3 separate regions of the Homo sapiens genome follow, and all the other regions are linked to region 1. The links are contacts of gene promoters, found by promoter capture Hi-C in human tissues and cell types (Jung and others, 2019). All regions are on one chromosome and are shown on one strand. The core of a region is centred on a gene start or on the middle of the fragment in contact, and the rest is flanking DNA. Distances in the headings are between cores, read along the strand shown.

Evidence for each region. Contacts are between HindIII fragments. The study calls those that stand out against the background at their distance.
Region 2: a contact is called between a fragment that was not itself captured here and the fragment with the promoter of SLC9A8 in region 1, in 4 of the 25 tissues and cell types used here (aorta, hippocampus, lymphoblastoid cells and 1 more).
Region 3: the fragment with the promoter of KCNB1 here is called in contact with the fragment with the promoter of SLC9A8 in region 1 in 4 of the 25 tissues and cell types used here (IMR-90 fibroblasts, aorta, liver and 1 more).

The regions. Positions count from the first base shown.
Region 1 is chr20:49,810,617-49,814,847 of GRCh38, forward strand. SLC9A8 (solute carrier family 9 member A8) reads left to right here and starts at 2,212. Exons shown (of 16, transcript NM_015266.3): 1 at 2,212-2,332. The coding sequence starts at 2,307. RefSeq lists an enhancer at 1,891-2,030 and a silencer at 2,181-2,460. The HindIII fragment of the contact is 14,619 bases long and covers 1-4,231 here.
Region 2 is chr20:49,320,157-49,324,387 of GRCh38, forward strand. No RefSeq gene overlaps it. Among named protein-coding and RNA genes, the nearest start is that of SNORD12, 42 kb to the left of the region's middle. RefSeq lists enhancers at 3,572-4,073, 4,074-4,231. The HindIII fragment of the contact is 6,734 bases long and covers 1-4,231 here.
Region 3 is chr20:49,479,819-49,484,049 of GRCh38, forward strand. KCNB1 (potassium voltage-gated channel subfamily B member 1) reads right to left here and starts at 2,850. Exons shown (of 2, transcript NM_004975.4): 1 at 2,096-2,850. The coding sequence starts at 2,662. The HindIII fragment of the contact is 16,129 bases long and covers 1-4,231 here.

The sequences.
Region 1 (4,231 bases), core at 962-3,461:
GAGGCCAAGGGCAGTAGGCAAGACAACGGATAGAGAAGAGTAGTGAATTCCAGCTATGTGGAGTTTCCAGCTTGGCGAATTCCAGCCATGTGGGGTTTATTGGTGCTGGTAGAAAATGGTAGCCTCAAGCCCTCAGTTGACAAGTGTGGCCAGAGAGAACCCCACTCTCAATCCTTTGTAGACCAGGTCATTCCCGCCAGGCTCTGTGCTAACGGAGGAGAGTAGGTTATTAGTCCCATTTAAGAGCCAGAGAAATTAAGGCAGTGGAGAGTAGCAGGGCTACTGGTTTAAAAACACTGGCTCTGTGCCTGAATCCCAGCCTTGTCATTTGCTAGCTGTGGGACCGCAGGCAAGTGCCTTGATTTCTCTATGTCTGTGGATAATGATGGTATCTACCTCAAAGCTATGTAAAGAATTAAGGAAACAATAGCCCAACACCACACCTGCAGGAAGGAAGCAAGTTTATTATTACTCAATAAACATTGGTGGATCCTGATGACATTCTCTCAGTCAGCTTTAGCAGTCTTAAGAGACTGCAGAGGATGGAGAACCCAAGGTTAGAGCCAGATTTCTTCTCTACCCAGTTCCTCGGGGCCAAAACCCTGACACCATGCTTAACTCCTCTTTTATACGCCATAGTCCGTCAGCAAACCTTGTCTTCAGTATGCGTCCAGGAGTCCAACCATTCCTGCCACCTCCACCGTATTACTTTCATCCAGACTGCCATCAGCTGTCACCTAGATTATTGCAAAAGCCTCCTTGCTGGCTTTGGGGCTTCCATCCTCTCTCTCTCGCCAATCCCCAGTCAACTCCCAACAGGCAGCAAAGCTTAGGTTACTTCTCAGTTCAAAACCCTTCTAGGTGTGCTAGAATTAACTGATTTATTTACTCAATGATTATTTATTATTGAGTGTCTACTATGTGCCAGGTACTGTTGTAGGCATTGCAGATAAAATGGAGAACAAAACAGACAAAAATTTCTGCATTCATGAAGCTTCCGTTCTCATGGAGGGAGATGGTTAACAAACAAGTGTATGAGTAAAACATATGGTAGGTTAGGTGTCATGTGGAAAAATAGTTTAGGGAAGGCGGGGGGCCTTGGATTTTAAGTAGGGTGGTCAAGGAGGTCTAACACACAAGATAAGGGTTAAATAAAAGGCCAAACGTAGGAGAGGTGGGAGCCAAAGAGCTACCCAGAAGAAGAGCATTCTAGATAAAGGCTCAGTAAGTGCAACGGTGGAAGTATTCCTGGTGAGTCTGGGACAATAGTGGAAAGTCAAAGTGTGTGGGAGGGGAGATATAGAGCCCCATGCCCCCCTCCCACACACTTCAGAGGGGAAAAGGGGGCAGGATTGAGTCCTGTACATTCCCCACGTTTTTTTTTTCTCTGGAGATTGGAAGCCATTGGAGGGTCTAAGCAGAGGAGTGATGAGTTAAGCTGCTGTGTGGAAGTCCGTAAGGAACAGGGGTGAGTCAGAGACCCTGAATGGAGCCGTTGCAATTATCCAGATGAGATAGAGTGCCTTGGATCAGGAAGGGAGGTAGCAACAGAAGCGGCCAATAAAGTTCAAAGTCCTCAGCCCCAGTCCTCCCGATGGGGGTCTCACCTACCCCTCTCACCTCACCTTGTTCCTCCCTGCATCCCCACCCCACCGGTCACTGCTAGGCACATAGAAGCATCTACTAAGCATGTGGTGAATCAATGAACCCCTTAATGAATGGTCCACCCCTAGATCATCAGCATCCTTTTTAACGCTAGGCATATAGTCTGAACTCAACACATGTTTACAGATGGAATGCTGCACAGTCCTGCCAAGTCCAGGCGGTTATTCCTCTCCACAGCCGAAGGAAACTAAGGCTCGGGTGGGGAAGTGTCCCCCTGGGGTCTCTCCGCTTAGGCTGCAGGCTGGGCATCCTTTTTCAAACTCTTTTAGCACAGCGAAGTCGAGGGCACTGGGTGGAGGGTGCTTGCTTGCCCTCAGGGTGAGTCACAGTGACCTCAGAGGAGTTTCCCCAAAACGTCCCCGCCCTGTGATGGGGAAAAGCCGGAATCTCTCGGTCCCAGGTGGTCATGTGGCCCAGGCCGGACAAGCGTCCCGAAAGCCCCGGGAGAGACTAAGAAGCAATCCTCCCACGCGCTTTCTCCCACCCTCGGGCCACTGAGACGGAGGGACAGAGGGCCGCCCTCGCGCGGCCGAGGCCCCGCCTCCCGCTCGCCCGCCCGCGCCTCCAGCGGAAGCCGGAAGCAAAAGCGGGTCCTGCTAGCCCCGCGGCTCCGAACTCGGTGGTCCTGGAAGCTCCGCAGGATGGGGGAGAAGATGGCGGAAGAGGAGTGAGTGGGCTTTTTCCCGGGCGGCGGAGGCGGCGGGGCTGGGCCCCGGCGGGTGACAGCGAGCGCCTCAGGCCGCCCTCCGGCCCCGGAAGGCGGAGCTTCTTTTGCTGGTTGGCCAGGACTGACCAAGCCGGTGCCTACGAGGAGGGCGGGATGGGCGGGCCTGGGCCCAGGTGGGCCTTGCTTTCCCCTGGAGATCGGTCCCTCGAGCTGGGAATCTACTGCCCAGCGCAGGCCCGGAGAGCTGTCTTGCGGAAAATACAAACCATATTTACTTTCCCAGTTTTCGGTAATCTCATGGTTACTGAGCCCTCTTCCGCCTCCTCCAGGAAGTCGTCCGGGTTCTCCACACCCACCTCCTACGTAGCCAGTCGCCTCCTGTATAACGATCAGTTTTCATGTCTTTCTCCTTCACTAAGTTTCATTTAGTCATTAACTGTTAGCCATCTACTCAATTCCAGGCCCTGGGCAGGTGGTAGGAAAGGAGGCCGACCAGGAGCCGCTCTCTGGGAGCTTCCATTCTAGTGGGAAAAGAAGACCATAATTAGTCAAGGTGGTTTCAGATCGTGATTAATTAACGTTATTTGTGCCTAGTGTTCCATTATTGGAACGCTAAGCATGTGGGAGTTATTTATATCCTACTGCTCAAGGTCATCGCCAAGGTCTGATTTTTCTCACGTCTGCAGTTCTAAAAATTGCAACCTCTGGCATGAATGGGTTAAGTGTTCTGAAGGAAGCAAAATAGAGTTAAGGTTGGGGAGTCCACTCAGGAAAAAGTGACATTCAGCAGAAACTTGAATGACCAGAATGAGGGATAGGAGAAATAACATCAGGTTCAAAAGGCCTGGCTCAAGAAAGAGTTTAGTGCTTTTGAGTGACAGGCAGCATGGCTGGTGTGTAGAGAGGAAGGGGGTTAGCTGGACAAGGGGAGATGGGGAAGGACGGGCTGTGTCCTCCAGGTACTTTTGGGCAAGTCCAAAAGTCATCTCCATACCTGCAGGGCAGAGTCTGTTGCAGATTGTAGATGCCCTATCACTGTTTGTGGAATGAGTATGTGAAGATGAATAAGGAACCCCTTCATTGATACTGGAGTCCTTCACCTGATAACTTTTCAAATATATTTCTTGGCCATGTGGGGGTCATTTCATGTAATCAGTTATTTATTGAGCAGCTGCTCCATCCCAGACACTAAACAGCCTCAGCAGCACAAAATAAAAGAGGCAATATAGCCCAGCGATTTCAAGTTTGGGTTTTCAGCTTGATTCTGCCACTAACTGAGATGTTGGTGAAGTTTTGCAACCTCCCTGAGCCTTAGTTATGCATGAGTAAAAAACGGAAAGTAATCATACCCAATCAGACATGTTATACCTATTAAATGAGAGGTAGTGTGTTACCTAGTTCCTGGAATAAAGCAGTGCTCAGAAAATAATAACTTTTGTAGTCACAGTAACAGTTATTATAGCAATATTGTACTAGTTCACAATCCCAGCACAGTGTGAAAGAGCTGTGGGAACATACGCAGTGGAGTGGGTAAATTCGGGTGTGGTAAGATGGGGTAATAGGAGGTGACATTTGAGCCGTTTGAAATCTGAGAGGGATTTTGTAAAGTAGGGTAGGGCATGCCCAGATCAACAACTGGGCAAATTGAGGTGGCTTCTTCAACTTGCAGAAATAATGCCAGGAAAATAATGTAAATTGGAGAAACAAAGGTGCTAAGTAAACAGTGTTGGACCTTGGAAAGTGATGAGACTCCAGTTTGCCTCCCTTTAAATCCCCCAGTATTTGCCAAAGAGCAGGCAGCATTTCATTTCTATACTAGCTCTGATTCCCTACCGTTCTTGTCCTCTAAGTGGCTGTATTCAAAAGCACCAGAGGCCACTGGTACCCTTGTGCTGTGCA
Region 2 (4,231 bases), core at 1,221-3,720, 490 kb before region 1:
GTCGGGCACAGTGGCTCATGCTTGTAATCCCAACACTTGGGGAGGCTGTGGGAGGATCATTTGAGGCCAGGAGTTCGAGACCAGCCTGGGCAATATTGGAAGACCCAGTCTCTACAAAAAATTAAAAAAAAATTAGCCTCAAATGGTGATGACTGCCTGTAGCACCAGCTACTCAGGAGACTGAGGTGGGAGAATCACTTGAGCCCAGGAGGTTGAGCCTGCAGTGAGCTATGATTATGCCACTGCACTCCAGCCTGGGTGACAGAGCGAGATCATGTCTCAAAAATAAATAAATAAATAAATAAATAAATAAAAATGTAAGGGACCTAACATCCATTAATCACCTATCCCTCTGTGCCCAGAAGCTGGGCTGGATGTCCCCTGGAACCTGAATACATTCTCCCTGCCCTCTGGGGTTCAGGTATGGAATAACATCCCTGTTTAGCAGTCAAGAAAAGCAAGGCTCAGAGAGGAGAGGGCTTTGGGCAGTCAAGAATTCCCAGCCAGTGGAGGAGCTGGGTCTGATTCTGAGTCTTCTAGCTCCTTGCTGCCAGGAGTGGCCAACGTTGGAAATTCAGGCAGCAGTGAGATGAGAAAGTAATTTTGGATGTGGTGTCTTCTCAAGCCATAGGCAAAAGAGAACTCCTTCCAGATTAAATTTGGGGAAGGACTGCCTGGGGGTGCTTTTGTACTGGTTGGTTTTCTGTGTAGAGAGTTCATGCAGCCGCGGGTCTGTACTGATTGGAGCTGAAGTCCCAGGTTAGCACCACCAACAGGGGCTCCCCTGCCACAGCGCAGGAGTGGGGGCCCAGGATGGGTCCAGGCAAAGGCATCAGTGATACTTTCTCATGGTCTGACCGACACCCACAGAATCACACAATGTTAGCCCCTCCCAAGAGATGTCCTTTCTATACGGAGTGGGGGCTGGAGGAACCAGGAGCCTCAAAGCTTTGCTTTCACCTTTGTTTTGCTCTTTTGGGATCTGCCTCCTTATCTGGAGCAGGGTCTTGTGAAGAGACGCAGGGAAAAGTTCACTTTCCACCTCCCAGGGGAGCAGGCAGGAGGGGACTAGTTAGGAGGCAAAAGATGTAGAGAAGTATTTGCTTTTTTCATGGGCTATTTTTAGGAGATAAAGTCAACTGCCTTAAGTGATCAATTGTAATAGAGGGAGATGTTGAAGATGACTTAAAAAACAAACAAAATCCGCAAACAACAAATCTAATATTTATGAAATACCAAATGTCAGGAAGGTACTATTTTAAGTGCTTGAAGTAAATTGTCTCATTTAAGCCTCATAATAACGCTATGGAACAGTGTTATCATGTCTGTTTTACAGATGAGGAACTAAGGCACAGAGAGGTTAAGTGACGTGTTCTGGGTTGCACAGCTCTTAAACAGCAGATCTGGGATTTGCACTCCAGCAGTCTGACTCCAGATCTCAATATTGTATAGCAGCTCAAGGGTGGCAGAGACTCAAGAATGTTAGGAGAGGGAAGCTTGAGTCTACAGGTGTAAGGAGACCCCTTGACATCTTCCCCATTTAGTTCAATTAAAATTTTCTTTTTTTTTCTTTTTCTTTCTTTCCTTCCTTCTCTCTTTTCTTTTCTTTTTCTCTCTCTCTTTCTTCCTTCCTTTCTTTTTATTTTTCAGGGTTTCACTGTGTCACCCAGGCTGGAGTGCAGTGGTGCAATCATGGCTCACTGCAACCTCTGCCTCCCAGGCTCAAGTGATCCTCCTACCTCAGTCTCCTGAGTAGCTGGGACTACAGGTGTGGGCCACCACACCCAGCTTTTTTTTTTTTTTTTTTTTTTTTTTTTTGTATTTTTTGTAGAGATGGAGTTTTACCATCTTTTCCAGGCTGGTCTCAAACTCCTGGGCTCAAGCTATCCTCCAGCCTTGGCCTCCCAAAGTGCTGGAATTACCAGTGTGAGCCTCCACACCCAGCCTCAATTACAATTGGTGGCCACCTTCTGTGTGCCCAATTCAGCTAGAAGCACTGGGGGATGGAAGCAAGGCTGGAGTTCTGGTACCCCTCAAGCTTATTGTCTATTTTTGGGAGACAAGGTAGTTGGGAAAGGAATAAATAATTTCAGTCTGAGCAAGGTGAAGCTTGGAAATGATTGGTGAGGATGGTGTGGAGGCAGGGAGAGAGTGGGGCTGGAGTGATTAGTAAGGCCTTGAAAGATAGACACCACTGTATTTTCCAAGTTATTTACAGAATGTTTCCATGTATTCTATACTTCTTAAATATCATCTCAACCCTGTATGGTTGATGTCCCTACATATACACTTATGTGTTTCCTGTAGACTTAGTACTCTTAGGGTTGTGACACAATTTAACTTAAGTTAACAAGGATATTTATTGGCTTAGGTAACTAAAGAACAACCCAGGGATTCCAGAGCTTCAGGCATGACTGGATCCAGGGGCTCCAAGGATGTCATCAGGACTCTATCTCTTTCCATTCTTCGGCTTTTCTTGTGTTAACTTCATTTACAGGCATGCTGTCACCAAGTGGTAGCAAAGCTAGTGGTCAAAGACAGTAGCTGTAAACTGCCATCCTTAATGGATTGAGAGCATTTTTCCCCAGTTCCAGCCAAAATCCCAGGGCTGGTTCTCATGGGCTCAGTTTGGATTAAATGGTCATTGCTGACCCAATCAATCACTGAACCCAGGGAGAAGGAATATATCAACTGGCCATGTGGGGGTCACCTGCCTCATACCAGGAACGAGAGGGTGCGATCAGCCCTGTCCAAACCATGTGGATTGAGAGTGGGGAGTTTTGGTTTCTCAGAAGAAAACTGAGGTGGTATTCCCAGAAGATGGGGGAAAGGAGGCTGGGAGGGTACTACTCAGCTGTGGGAGACCACGTGCTTTGGGAAACTTTGGGTAAAGTGTGCTGAGATGTTGAATAGGAGGAGGGCACGGTAAATGACTGTGGATGAGTTGCAGGAAAATGTAGATTTTTAGCCACTGAGCTTGGGGGTCTCCATCTATGATCCACTGTCAAAAAAGATCCTTCGTGAACCCCCTCAATAGGAGATGGGAACCACTGAGGGATTTCAGGGAACAGGCCAGAACTGTATTCTAGAAAATCCTTTTGGTAGACAATAAGGAGGGCAGATGGTAAGGAGGCTGGGCAGTGTGGTTCAGAGGAGAAAGCGGGGTTTGGATAATGCAGAAAGACATTCCTTGGCTGGGCCCCGTGGCTCATGCCAGCATTTTGAGAGGCTGAGGTGGGTGGATCACAAGGTCAGGAGTTTGAGACCAGCCTGGCCAACATAGTGAAACCCTGTCTCTACTAAAAATACAAAAATTAGCTGGGTGTGGTGGCACGTGCCTATAGTCCCAGCTACTCCGGAGGCTGAGGCAGGAGGATCGTTTGAACCTGGGAGGCGGAGGTTGCAGGGAGCCGAGATGGTGCCACTGCACTCCAGCCTGGGCGACAGAGAGAGACTCCATCTTAAAAAAAAAAAAAAAAAAAAAAAAAGGTGTTCCTTCATGAGCCTGGGCCTGTAAGGGTGGGGTGAAGCGATTCTAAGGGGTCTGTGGGAAATGTGGTCTGGCCATGGCAGGCTCAGCTGGCACGATGTCATCTGGGTATCCAGGACTCAGTGAGCAGCCTTACCACCGCCCTACCCCTTTCTGTAAGGCTGGGAAGCTAGAATTTCTTCTTTGGTCAGGAAAAGTGGGCTGGGCTTTGCTTTGAGAAACACTGCTATCTGGTGTTGCCTTTTTGCAATGTCAGCCTGTGGTTATATTTCCTTTGTTGTTGCTAAGGCAAGATTTGCTCACTCATTGTTCAGTGGCACATCACTTCCTGAGTTGCTGTGTGCCAGGCCCTGTGCTTGGTGATGGGATACAGCAGGGAACATGACAAATGAGGACCCTATTGTTGTGGAGCTGACACTCTAATGGAGGAGGCAGACACTACGAGAATAACCACAGATGTACTGAGTTTGTGATCCTGGGCCTATGCGAGGGGTGATGATGGTTCCCTCTTGTGTGCGTGCTGCCAGTGAGACGGGTAGAACACGTGCAGGGTGGTGCCTGCCTAATTTTCCGCAAAATCTCTCACCTGCCTGGCAGGCAGGGCAGGAGATCGTGGTGGACTTTGGGGATACCCCTTGGTCCAGCTGTCCAGCCAGTGCCTGAATCTGGTCTGCAGTCTTCCTGCCAGGTTTTTTAGCCACATTGTGAACACTTTCAGTGACACAAAACTCATTCTTCTAG
Region 3 (4,231 bases), core at 1,600-4,099, 330 kb before region 1:
CTCGGTTTGGATTTCTGGCTACTCCTGACTGCCTGTGGTGTGACCTTAGGCAAGTTACTTAACCTCTTTCAGCCTCACTGTTTGCGAAAGGTGGGATAATAACAGAGCTGCGTTGTTACACTCCATACACAGTAGGTGTTTGATCATTGGCAGCCAGGATTTCTATTCTGAGGGCCAGTGAGCCTGCCTCCCTCCCCATTTCAGCTCTGGCTACAGAAAATCCTAGATGGTCCATCTGCCAGGAATGTGAGCTGGCAGCCCCAGACTGGGATCATGGAGAGGTCACAAGGCTGTCCCTGCTAGCGGATTAACCCAAGGGAGAGGAGAGGTTCTTTATTCCCAAACAGCACCTCTTGCAAGCCCCGGTGCTTGGGTCTTGCTGCCAGACCAAAACATGGCCCTGTGCCTGCTTCTTCTCTGGGAGGGCAAATTGTCCAGTTCCCTGTACCTTGTTCTCATGTCTTAGGGATGGGACAGGGAGGGAGAGTCACATTTGGGCCTAAATGGGATGTGCAGTGGGAGAACCTGTGTCATGCCTGGAAATAGCAAAATAAGTCTGTTGATCCTAAGCTGATTAAGGGTGAGTGACTCTGTCTTAGGAGGAGGCTTTTTGGACACAAAATTGGGGGCGGGATTATGGAGAGAGACAGCCCACAGCCTCAGAGGAGGAAGCCAGGCCCAGGAGCCTCTACATCCTTGTTAGGGCCAACAGGGAAACGAAAAAAACACGTGGGGGCTCCCTCCACCCTCTTACCAGCCACCCCTTCTCCATCCACTCTCAGGGGCCTCTCCTTGGGTGGCTAGATCTGGAGGAAGGACCCCACGGAGTCTCCCTTCAGACTGGGACCTGCAGGTGGGCCTTCAGTGAGAACTGAGCCGGAGACCCCACAATGAAAGGCTGGGCTGGACAGGAGTCAGCCCTAGCTAGTAAGATATGGCTGGATATTTAGGCTTCCTCCTCTCCTCTTTCTTTTACCACAAATCTACTTACCTGACCCCTTTTTTTAGGCCCCACACTCAGTTACATTCTCCCCATGTTTCCCAAGTTGGTCTTGCTGGATTTCAACATCAACATCTCTCTTTTCTGGGTTCTCCGTGAACCTCACAGAACCTCTTTTATAGCCTTGCACACACTGTTTTGTCATTTGCTCCCAGCACCCAGCACTTCGGGCACATGAAGACAGGCCCCATCTTTCCCAGGCAACCCCAAATCCCAGCCTGACGTAGAGAAGTTGCTGATCAACCAGTGCCCTCCTGCCCTGCCTTGGCTCCCACCCCAAGCCTTCCTCAGTCCCCTACAGCCCCTGCCATTACCCAGCAGCACCAAAGACTCTCTGGCCCACTCTTTGTGTTCAAACTCATTCCTGCCTCCTCCTCCTCCTCCTCCTTTATTTTTCACATTGCCTCATTTTTCTCTCCTATTTTGAAATTTACATCTTGTTCCAAGAGCTGAAACATCTTTACAAGCTGCACCAAACCATTCTGGAAATAAACTCACCAAATAAATAAGTAACCAGGGGGTGACCCCTCACCCGCAAGCATCCACAACCAACTGCATGTGTCGTGTGGGTCCACACCCACCCCTCGGGGTCCCTTCTTACTTATGTTTAAACTATCTGACAGTATCTCAATGTCCTGTAAGCATGTCTGTAAGCTGCTTTTTTCCCTTGCTGGGGCAGAGTGAGGTTATAAATATGGAGATATTAAAATCACAGGGTGATCCAATCCAGCCTAGGTCTGGGACTTCACAGGGAAGCAAACCCTACTCCACCCCAGCAAGCCACTGTTGTCTCTCTGTGCTCTCTCTCTTATTCGTCAGTGTCCATCTTCTTGCTGTGGCTTTTTATGGGTCCCTGTGAAACCTCTCCAACCAAGTAGGGGTATAACGTCTTGGATAATAAAAAGATGGAGTGACCAGTGCCACATGGGAAAAGTCTGAGGGGGTTGGTCCTCACCTCTGGGGACTCAGTCCTAGCCCCTCCCCATTACTAATCTTCATCGTTGGGAACAAAGCCAGAGTCCTCCAGCAGTGGTCCTCAATATGGGGATGCAAGCAGATCCCCCCAGACCAGCAGCCCCCAGATCCCAGACTCACCTTGGCAGCCACAGAGGAATTGGGCTTCTCCAGTAGGTCCCAGAGTTTTTTCCTCTTCTCTGCGCAGCACGTGTTATCGAACTCCTCGCCTTCCCGCTCCCGTAGGGTCTCGGCCTCACGCTTGAGCTCCTCGTTCATCTGCTCTTTCTTCTGGTGGTAGCGGGCCTGGCAGCAGGACTCCAGGTAGATCTCGTCGATGCCCCAGTAGTCGAGCTCTTGGCTGAAGCTGAGCGCGCACATCTCCTCCATCATGTGCAGTCGCCCAGTGCGGTAGAAGTTGAGGATGGAGGTGAAGGCGCCCGGGTGGCGGTCAAAGAAGTACTCGTTGTCGTCGAGGCTGTAGTCATCGCACACCTCGAGCAGCGAGTCGTGCGTGTTGCAGTCGCGGAGCTTGCCCAGCCGCGTGCGGGGCAGGCGGTCCAGGGTACGCCAGAGTACCTCGTGCGCCAGCCCCCCGACGTTGAGGCGGACCCGCCGAGAGCACGCCTTGCTGCGCACGATCTCCATGGGCTCGGGCGGCAGCGAGCTGGTGGAGCGGGAGCCATGCTTCGTCATGCCCGCCGGCATCGCTGATCCGGCCGCCCCCGCCCCCCCTGCCCCCCCAGGCCGCTGTCACTCGACGGCAAGGCCCGCTGCTGCGGGGGAGGGGGGCAGGGAGCGCTGTGGGCTGCTGGGGGTGCAGGGGGCCCCGCGGGCGCGCGTCACGGCCGTCTTCTCACCTCCATCCCGACGGCTGCGAGGCAGAAAGCGAAAGCGGACGCGGGTCAGCAAACGGGGAGCTGGGCATGCTGTCCCCCCGCCCCCCACCTCTCCACCAGGCTCCCAGCCGGCCTTGACCTTCCCCCGCGCTTAAGCGGCTCAGTGGGGTAGGACGGATGGTCGCTGTCCCTCCCGCCGGTGCTGAAGTCCGCCGCACCCCATGGATGGAGGGAGGGGCCGCCCCTCGGGGCGGGGAGAGGGCCCCAAGAGATGCCCCTGGAGCCCGGGAGGCCCCACCCTGGGCTTCTGCGGCCCAGGCGCGACCCAGCCGCCCGGGGCGCTGTCCGCCCCTTAGAGTGCTGAAACTCTCTTCATTATGGGTCTCCCGATCGAGTCCCGAACCTGGCCCCGCCATGGGGAGAGAGGGGGAGCTGCATGAAAACTTTCTTTCTTTATCTTTTTCTTTCTTTCTTCTTCTTCTTTCCTTCTTTTTTTTTTTTTTAACGAGTTCTCTTCTTTTCCTTCCCCTTCTCGAGATAATCAAGATTTTGGGGGTGGGGGAATGGCAGCGGGCTTTTTTCCAAATCTTAAAAGATTTGGGGGAATTCCGGGGGTTCCAGGTGCCCACCTGTCCGAGGTCACAACAGACGGGGTGTGCACAACAGCCCCTCTGTCCTGGAGCGACCCCTCTTCCCAAACACTGGAGCATCTCCTGAGATTGCTCCAGCGACAAGGTGAGCCGCGAGGAGGAAAAGCCCGCTCTCGCCTCTCCCTCTGAGCCCCCAACCCTACCGCAGGAGGGGCGGGCAGAGTCCTCGGGATCCGCCTGCTCCGTCCTCCCCTCGCTCCTTCCCCGCCCCCTTCTCCTCCTTCTCCTCCCCCTCCTCTTCCTTCTCCCCCTCCTCCTCCTCTTCCTCCTCCTCCTCCTCCTCCTCCTACTCCTCCTCCTCGTTCCTCTCCCGCGATGGCTTTTTATAACTCCGGGTTCTGCGCCTTTCCCCGGGCTTGGAAGGGAAGGGGTGGGGGAGGTGGGAGGCGGGGAAATGAGCTAAATTTTCTGGCCTTTTCAAAAGGTGCCATCCTCCTACCGCGCACTAGTGATTTCGGGGGGTTCCCCTGAGCACCCCCTGCATGTAGGGCTCACGCCTTAGCCCCAGAATGGGGATTGCGCGTCCCCTCAGGCCTCAGCCCTTGCCTGCCTCCCACCCCGCTCCCCTCCAGCCTGGAGCTGCGGAGCCCGAGCAGACCAACAGGCCGAGCTGCGGCAGGCAAACCCCCTGTCCGTGTCCCCATGCACCCCCACGGAAGGCCGTACGCCCCAACACTCACCCCCAGGGCGGCCGCCTCCTGGGGCCAGGGACCGCGCATCGTCCCGGCCGCCCGGGCGCCCCCGCCCGTGGGCAGCGGCGGTCCCGGGGCCGGGCTGAGCCGGGCCTA